Regions from separate parts of the Homo sapiens genome. Here region 2 is linked to region 1. Evidence: promoter capture Hi-C in human tissues and cell types (Jung and others, 2019). All regions are on one chromosome and are shown on one strand. Each heading gives the region's core, a stretch centred on a gene start or on the middle of the fragment in contact. The rest is flanking DNA. Distances are from core to core; before and after follow the strand shown.

Region 1 (4,265 bases), core at 664-3,163:
CTCTGAGCCAGATGGCTTGCATGCCATTATCCCCTGTAATTTGATATTCAGCCCCTGAGAATGCACTCTTGCTTTCTTATTTTACAGATGAGGCAACGGGATCAGAGAGGGCAAGCACCTTGATAAAAGTCACACAGCTCCTGTGTGGCTGGGAGTCAAACCCACATCCACTGGATCTTAAAACTCAATGTTATGTTAAGAGGCCACTGTACCTGGTGGTAAAAACATAAACTTTGAAGCCAGACAGCCTGATAAAAGGACTAATGCATGGGACACACCAAGGGTAGTGGTAGGCACATGGTCAGTGTTCGGTGAAAGTGGCTTTTTACCACCACGATGATTGCTGCTCTTGTTAGGCAGCACACATTCACCTGGTGGCGGGAGCCTGTAGTGTCACAAGGAAAGCAACACTCAGCGTTCACATAAGGTCTCTACTGCTTCTTAGCTAAGGGACTTGGGAAATCACTCCTTCTCTCTGGCCACAGTTTACCCTCCTATAAAGTGGGGATAATGCTACTCTCTCCCTCATAGGGTATGTGCGAGGACATGAGTTACAGCTTCCAACAGAGCCTGGCATGTTGGAAATTCTTAATGAATATTAGCTATTTTATTATTATCACTGTCATCCAAGAATTCCTGAGTGGTTGAACAGAAGGGAAGATGGTTGGAGAAGTAAAAAAAGACAATCCCTTTGAAAGACTGTGTTTAGAGGGAGGGGCTCTGTCAGTTGGAGGCAGCAAGGGGTGGAGAGCTGTGACCAGTTGGTGGGGAGAGAGGGTGGGGAGCAGGGTACTGACAGGACTTGGGCTTCCTGGGGAAGCCAGGGGCAGGGGGAGTGGGAAAGTGCTGGTTCTAGCCCATTTCAAAAGCCACCGAGTTTCAGCCTTGGGTTAGGGCTTACAACTCATCTGGTTTAACTGCCTCCTGCCTGTGCCAGCCCATCATCATTGCCAGCGCGGTTTCTCCTGTCCTCCCCCCAGGCTCTGACCTTTCCATCTCCTTCGGTCCAGCAGTCCCTTTCCGCAACATGGAGTCAGGCCCACTTGACTTTAAAGCCCCATCTGCTACCGGCTGCATAACCTCAGGCAAGTGCCTTAACCTCTCTGAGCCTCTTGGCAATGCTGATTTCAACCTGACAGGGCTGCCAGAAGGATGACAGGAGAAGGCGCTTAGAAGAAATAAGGTCCCCCCTGCCCCGTGCAGTGCCACATCCCACTCCCCAGCTGCACAAACATTGCGCTCACTCAGTACTAGCTGAGAACTCATCGTAACTCTACCTGCACATCCCCTTATTTCTTTGGAAGAGTCAAGCTGAGCTTTCTCAGCGAGTATGAGGAAATAAGCAAGGTGTTGGGGAAATGCTGGGCCGGGCAGGAGCGACTGGCTTATAATCCCACTCCTGCCTCTGGTTTACTGATAAATTTTGAGCCAGGGCATGCACTAAGCTTTTGCAAGCTTGATCTCCTGTAAGGCACAGCAGTGCTGAAAGATTCTGTTCTCTGTAGGGGGGCCGGGCTGAGAGAGGTTAGGTGACTTGCCCAAGATAACCAATACATAAGGTGCAGAGCCAGACTCAGCTCAAGTCTCTGCGATGCCAAAGCTCCTATGTGCCAGGCTCCCGCTTTAGGTGGCCTGCCCATCCGCTAGGCCCTGGGTAGCAGCAGACTCCCCAACTCACCCCAGAGATCTGGGTCCCATAGGTCTGGGATTGGGCCCAGCTACCTGCACTGTTAAACAGCCTAACTGGCTCCGAGGCAGGTGACGCAAAGCTCACACTTACGGAATCACCACTTTCTGCCATATTGGCCCTGCCAGCCTCCCCCAGGCGCCAAGCCCCGTCCTCACCTGGGAAGCTGGTGTCCTGTGAGGCCACTGGGCTGAGCAGCAGTGGGACCAGGAGCCGAGAGCCTACTGCCCTCGGTCCGAAGCGGAAGTTCCCTTCCCCAGAGGCGGGAAGGGCTTTCCCCTGACGGTCCCCTCCCATGGACCAGCAGGCTGGCCCCTTTCCCGTCCCCTCACTGTCCCCCCACCCTGCTGCCCTCAGGCAGTTTCAGGTCCTATTTCTGCAACCCACTGGATTTACTGTAAATGAGACGGGTGGGTGGCAAGTTTGGTTCTGCCAACTCAGCAGCTGTGGGGAGAACACGCTGTCCTGGGGGAACATCCACAGCTCACCCTCCCAGGCTCTCTGACCTCGTGATCTTCTTCTACACTGGGCAGGGGTGTTCCTCAGTGAGCATCATGTGGCGGGCCCGCTGCCTGAGTGCTGGCTTACAGTCAGAGCCTTTGATTCCAATCCCGCCTCTGCCACTTGCCAGTTGATGTGTTGTCAGTCAAGGGAGCCCCAATTTTCTCTGCTATAGGATGGGACCATAATTGTACCTGCTCTACAGATACAGATCTCACAGGCCACTGGGAGGATAATGGAGGAAATGATGGGGGAGGAAGTGTCTGGGGGTAAACTGTAAAGGGCTGTGCACGTGTTCATTGTTAATATCACTTCATGTCCCAGGCTTCCCCTTTCTGGGCTCATCTCTTCTGCTTCCTTCCCATTCTGTGCCCCTGCTCTTTCCCTGTTCTCAGAAAATAATCTCATAATGAATTTTAAATGTGTTCATTATTTATTGATACCCCTCCCTCTGCTTCCAGCAGGGCTGGACGCTGATGACAATAATAGGCCCAGGCAGGGGCCTGTTGCTTCTTCTCGATCCTGGAATCACGCCAAGTTAGGGCCGGAGAGGGGCTGAGGTTACTCGGCCCATCCTCCTCATTTTATATACGAGGAAACTGAGGCCCAGAGGGGAGACCCACCATTTAACAAATATTTAGTGTTTGCTTCCATGTGCACTGAAGAGAGAGCTCTTAGCAAATCAGCCATGGTCCCTGCCCCCATGGGGCCTCCCTTCTACGGGGGGAGACTGGTGTTAAACACGGAATGACATGAGGCTTCATTGCTTCTGTGATAAATGTCACAGAAAGACGTGACTGCTGGGGCCGATGCCTCATGGAGGTGGCAGATGCAGACCTGGAAGCCGGCATCCCTGGCACTAGGATATCAGTCTCTCCCTGTGGCTGCGTCTCAGACGACATGATGACTAGCAAGCACCAGGAGCTGGAGGCCCTCTTGACATCTGTGCTTGGAGATGGAAATTCACTGGGCTTGTGGATGCAGCTTGGTGGAAATTAAGTGTTAACTGCAATGGGTGAACAGGAGGGAAAGATAAGTTTGATAAAACCAAAAGGTCTCTGAGCTCAGTCAACTATAGTCCCGAAGGGACCCAGGCTAGGGTGAAGAGAAGAAACACTGGATTCCACAAAGGGAGAAACGAGTTAGTAGGTTGCAAGTTGAGGGCTTCTGAGCATTCCCAAAGCCGAGTGGCTCTGGGCCTCTAGTTCTTTTTTTTTTTTTTTTTCTTGAGATGGAGTCTCAGTCTGTTGCTCAGGCTGGAGTGCAGTGGTGCGACCTCAGCTCACTAGAACCTCTTCCTCCCAAGTTCAAGCGATTCTCCTGCCTCAGCCTCCCAGGTAGCTGGGACTACAGGTGCATGCCACCAAGCCCAGCTAATTTTTGTATTTTTTTTTAGTAGATACAGGGTTTCACCATGTTGGCCAGGCCGGTCTCAAACTCCTGACCTCAAGTTGATCTGCCTGCCTCGGCCTCCCAAAGTGCTGGGATTACAGGCGTGAGCCACCATGCCCAGCCTCTGGGCCTCTAATTCTTAGGTGGCTAAGGGCAATGGGAAAAGATGGATGTCAATTTGGGGTAGAAGCAGTGAGGCTAAGAACAGGAAGCAGCAGAGGTGGGTTAGGAGCACGGACTTTGGCAGTTTGAATCCCAGCTCTTCGTCTTGCTAACTATGTGGCCACGGGAATGTTTACTGGCCTCAGTTTCCTCGTGTAGAAATGGGAAGCATGAACGCCTATCTCCTGGGGCTGTTTTGGGGGCCAGCGAGGTCCCCCTGCCATGTCCAGGGCCAGGTGAGTGCCCAGCCCTTGGTGGGCACCCACTGCAAACATGGGAACGGTATTACTTATATGAAGAGAAGATGGAATTCTTGGAACCCAGGAGCAAAGAAGCCATGCCTGGATTAGGAGGAGGCCTGGACTTGGGGATCAGGAGCTGAGGGGTCCCTGGGCCTTGACCGCTAATGGGAGCCAGCTGGTCTCTGTACCTACAAAATTTTGGACTCACATCCCTGATTGAGAGTGGAAAATCCCTGATCCCTGCAAAGAGTGGAAAAAGAAACCTACACCCCCTCACCTTC
Region 2 (4,265 bases), core at 473-2,972, 200 kb after region 1:
AATCACTCAGTAAATAGCAACTAATAATTTTATTATGATGATGCTATTACAGCTGTATTTGAAATTATCTTTGTCTACCTGTATACCACTTGTCCAAGCCCCACATAGAATTTAAATTCCATGGAAGGGCAGAAATCATATTTGTCTTGTTCACCACTGTATTTCCAGGAATTTGAAACGTCTCTGGTACACAGTAAGTGCTCAACAAACACTAAATGATTAATGAATGCATGCGTACATGCATGGGGTGTTCTGAAACCATTTGTTAAACCACTAATGAATAGCTAAGTTTGGGGACTACTGACATAGAAGAAAAGTGTTTATATTAGAAAGGAGGGGCAGAAGTTTGATGATTTAGCTAAGTAGAAAAAAATTTCACTGAGATTGTAATTAAATCTCCATTAACCATACAAAGATCTGGGTACAATTCCAGGGAAGAACAAACAATTCCAGGTAGAAAAGACTTGAAAGAATAAAATCCAAAGCAGTTTGACCGGTGCCATCAGGCAGGGGGCTCCCAGGGACAGGCTCAATTTGGCAGCCCTATAACCTAGTACACCTATACATATATTAACCACTCAGAACAAATTTCTTCCTCGTTTGTAAAATGGAAATACCATACTTACTTATAAAGCGTCGTCATAAAGTAGAACAACACTTGTATGAATATAAATAAAGCACCTGGTTCATTGCAGCACTGGCTGCATGGTACCAACGCTATTCAAAGCAGGAGAAACTCTGAATAGTCAGTAAGACCAGAAGGGAAGCCAGAGTGTTCTGTCAACTAAAGTGCTCTCGGTGCATCGCGCAGTTTTAACTCTTTTCCCACTCCAGAAGAACCGACGAGAGGAATAGCTGAATGACAACACTGATCCAATCTCCTTGTGTTTAGGGCAGGGGTCAGTAAACTTTTGCTGTAAGGGACCAGACAGAAATATTTCTGGCTTTGTGAGCCAGCCGATCAAAGCCAAGCAACGGCTGCGCAACTACTCAGCTCTGCCCTCTTGGCAGGAAAGCAGCCATAGACAATACATCAACAATGAACAGGGCCGTGTTCCAATAAAACTTCATTTATGGACTTGATTTCATAGAACTTTCGCAAATTACATGAAATATTCTTCCCCCTAACCATTTGCAACTGTAAACAAAGACCGAGAGGGGAAGAGAGAAGGGGGGCATGGATTAGGCCCAAGGCCATAGTCCGCTGACGCCCGGCGAAGGGACCTGAAGGGAGGGGGAGTGAGACAGCGACAAGAGGCCTCCGGACGGGCCGAGAGGGAGGTGCGGGGCGACAGCGAGCCCCAGGCGGTGTCAGGTCGGGCCTGGCGCCCTGAGTGGGTCCCCGCGGTCTCTCCCCTCCGCAGTCTACAGCAGAGCCGGCGCCAGGGGTGCGGACCGCCCCTGGAGGGGGCACGTCCGGGGTGTAGGTGAGGCGGCCGTGATTCGGCCGAGTCCCGCGGAGTTCGCCACGCGGAAGGGTCTGTATACACCCCTCATTTAGGGCGCACCCGGGCCCCCGCTGCAGGAAGGGTCTCCACGCGGAGTCCCAGCCCCGTTTCTATGGTTACCTGTTCAGCACCGATTCAAACTGCCGTTCTTTATTGACAGCGCCATAGAGGACACGAACACTCCTGCCCGAAGGGAACAATAAAGCTTTCGCCATTCAACAGCGCCGGAGACGCCAGAAGGCGGCCATCTTGAGGCCGGCGCGCAATGGGTATCAGAGGGGAGGGGGCGGCCCGACCTGCCCCACGCGCCGCGGTCACGTGCTGGGGGCGGGGCCTGCGTCACGCGCTCGCTCTCCACCTATGCTAGGACGGCGGGGGCCGGCTGGTTGCTAGGCTCTTCTCTGACCTCTGACCTTGGCCACTCCCTCCTTCCCTCCCCACACTTCCTAAGTAAAGTTTTTTTCTTTTTTTTTTTTTTGAGATGGGAGATTCGCTCTTGTTTCCCAGGCTGGAGTGTAGCGGCGCGATCTCGCCCCACTGCAGCCTCCGCCTTCCAGGTTCAAGCGATTCTCCTGCCTCAGCCTCCCGAGTAGCTGGGATTACAGGCGCGCGCCACCACGCCCTGCTAATTTTTTTTTTCTCTTCTATTTTTAGTAGAGACAGGATGTCACCATGTTGGCCAGGCTGGTCCCGAACTCCTGAGCCCAGATGATCCACCTGCCTCGGCCTCCCACCATGCCCGGCCCTAAGGAAAGTTCTAATGGAGCTCCGCAGTCTCGCTCCGGCAGCTCTAGGATTAGGATTTTGTTTCAAAGGAGGGCAAGGAAGTGAACACAAAAGGCTTCGTTTTTCCAAAACAACACATTCACGTGCGAGGCGGAGAGGCGACCTGAGCCGCGTCCCCAGCCCGCACTCTTTGTGGGACAGGCTTGGCGCTGGTGGGGCGCAGTGGGCTGAAGGCATCCTGGAGGCATCCTGATCCTGCCTCTCGCACCTCCCAATTTTGGGATTTAGGGGCTTTGGGATTTAGTCCTAGCTTTTCTTTTGCTCATTTTCCTTCTCACACACTATGCGTTCCCTGTTGAAGCGTCCCCTTGCCACCCTTCCTTACACAAACATTTAAATCAGATCCAGCAGTAACAAACTGAGTCACCTCCGCGCTGGCCCACTGAACACAGTCACCCTGTCACTGACATGCAGCCACTTTTTCTGTCCCTGACAGTTACGTGCCCAAATCCAGCCATCTTAGTGCAATGTCCAGCTTCCTCTGTGGTTATACCTTTTCCATCTGCAATGTCAATATTCAGTCGTTCTGAGAGCTGTCTCTGGCTGACTGACTCACCCCATCACCGTTTTACATCACAAATTCAATCTACTGGGCAGAACTGTCACTTGCATTGTTGCTGTCTCCCGGTCGATCATATTTACTGTCACTGTCTGACATGCAGCTACCGTCATTGACCATAAACTTCAAACGGTTCTGTTCAAAATAGCACTTTGTTTGCCCAGCTGTTGCCCTTTCTGTTGTTTTCACTGTCATTGTCATGCAGCCACTTTTGCTGCCACACAGTCAAGCCAGTATTTAACAGGCCCCTTCAGGGTACACTGTTGTCCTCATACCCTTGTGCCCAGTTAGTCACTTTCACTATTATACTCATGTCACCGTTACATTCAGGGTCGGATTTACTGTAGCTGTTATTTAGTCACTTTTGTAGTAACTGGAACCACGCCTACAGCTGTTGTGTCTCCTAAGCCCTCATTTCCACCAGCCTCACATTCTCTTTTAGTGGGAACATAGGGTTGCTAGATTTAGCAAACAAACACCTAGAAGGGTGCTTGGCACATAGTAGGTGCTCTAGAAATATTTATCGAGTTAATGGGATTACAGGTGTGAGCCACTGGGCATTTTGGGAGCATTTTGGGAGGCCGAGGCAGGCGGATCACCTGAGGTCAGGAGTTCGAGACCAGCCTGGCCAACATGGTGAAACCCCCGTCTCTACTAAAAATAGAAAAATTACCTGGGCATGGTGGCAGGTGCCTGTAATCCCAGTTACTCAGGATGCTGAGGCAGGAGAATCGCTTGAACCTGGGAGGCGGAGGTTGGAGTGAGCTGAGATCACGCCACTGCACTCCAGCCTGGGCAACGAGAGCGAGACTCCGTCTCAAAAAAAAAAAAAAGAGAAATATTTATCGAATTAATGGATTTTAAAAAACAGTATCATTGCCAATGTGCTGTATGTGAATGCAGATGGCTTGAAGCTCAGGAGTCTCAATAGGAATAAGTTTTCAGGCACCATCTGTCCCTCCTGTTCCACTTAACAAGACTTCAAATCCTATAGGGACTAAACGAAGAGAGCAAAAGAAAAGTGGCCACCAAGTGTACTCAGTTATTGGGACAGCAGTGACAAAGAAGAGGCTTTCTATAACTTTTTTTAAATGAATACATGCTTATTATAAAATATTTAGGAAATATGGAAAGGAATCTTTCCCTGGGGGGATTGTTTTAGACATCTCCCAACACACCCCACACATGTATCCACAGTCAGTGGATCAGTGGCTGCAGTTTCCCCATCACCATTTACTTAAGGTTTTGCATTAACAGAAGTTCTCATGGGGCTGACTTGCCTACAGTTCATGAACAACGACATACTGTCATGGAGAGCAATGGCTCTGGCTTCTGGCTGGTCATGATATGGAAGAATAAGAAGACAATGGCTAGACCTTCTAGACCTTGTAAGGGCCTCATCTCCCCACAGAGCTTCGACAGCTGCGGAGAAATAACCTGTGCTTCCCGATCACCAGAAGGACCCAAACCTT

What was found. The method cuts DNA at HindIII sites, captures the fragments that hold promoters and counts their contacts. A contact is called where the count stands out against the background at its distance.
Region 2: the fragment with the promoter of ZBTB40 here is called in contact with the fragment with the promoter of C1QB in region 1 in 2 of the 25 tissues and cell types used here (H1 embryonic stem cells and IMR-90 fibroblasts).

What each region holds. Positions count from the first base shown.
Region 1 is chr1:22,650,884-22,655,148 of GRCh38, reverse strand. C1QB (complement C1q B chain) reads right to left here and starts at 1,913. Exons shown (of 3, transcript NM_001378156.1): 1 at 1,846-1,913. The HindIII fragment of the contact is 7,433 bases long and covers 351-4,265 here.
Region 2 is chr1:22,449,308-22,453,572 of GRCh38, reverse strand. ZBTB40 (zinc finger and BTB domain containing 40) reads right to left here and starts at 1,722. Exons shown (of 18, transcript NM_014870.4): 1 at 1,569-1,722. RefSeq lists silencers at 1,239-1,328, 1,669-1,868, 2,183-2,477 and enhancers at 1,439-1,518, 1,232-1,793. The HindIII fragment of the contact is 15,295 bases long and covers 1-4,265 here.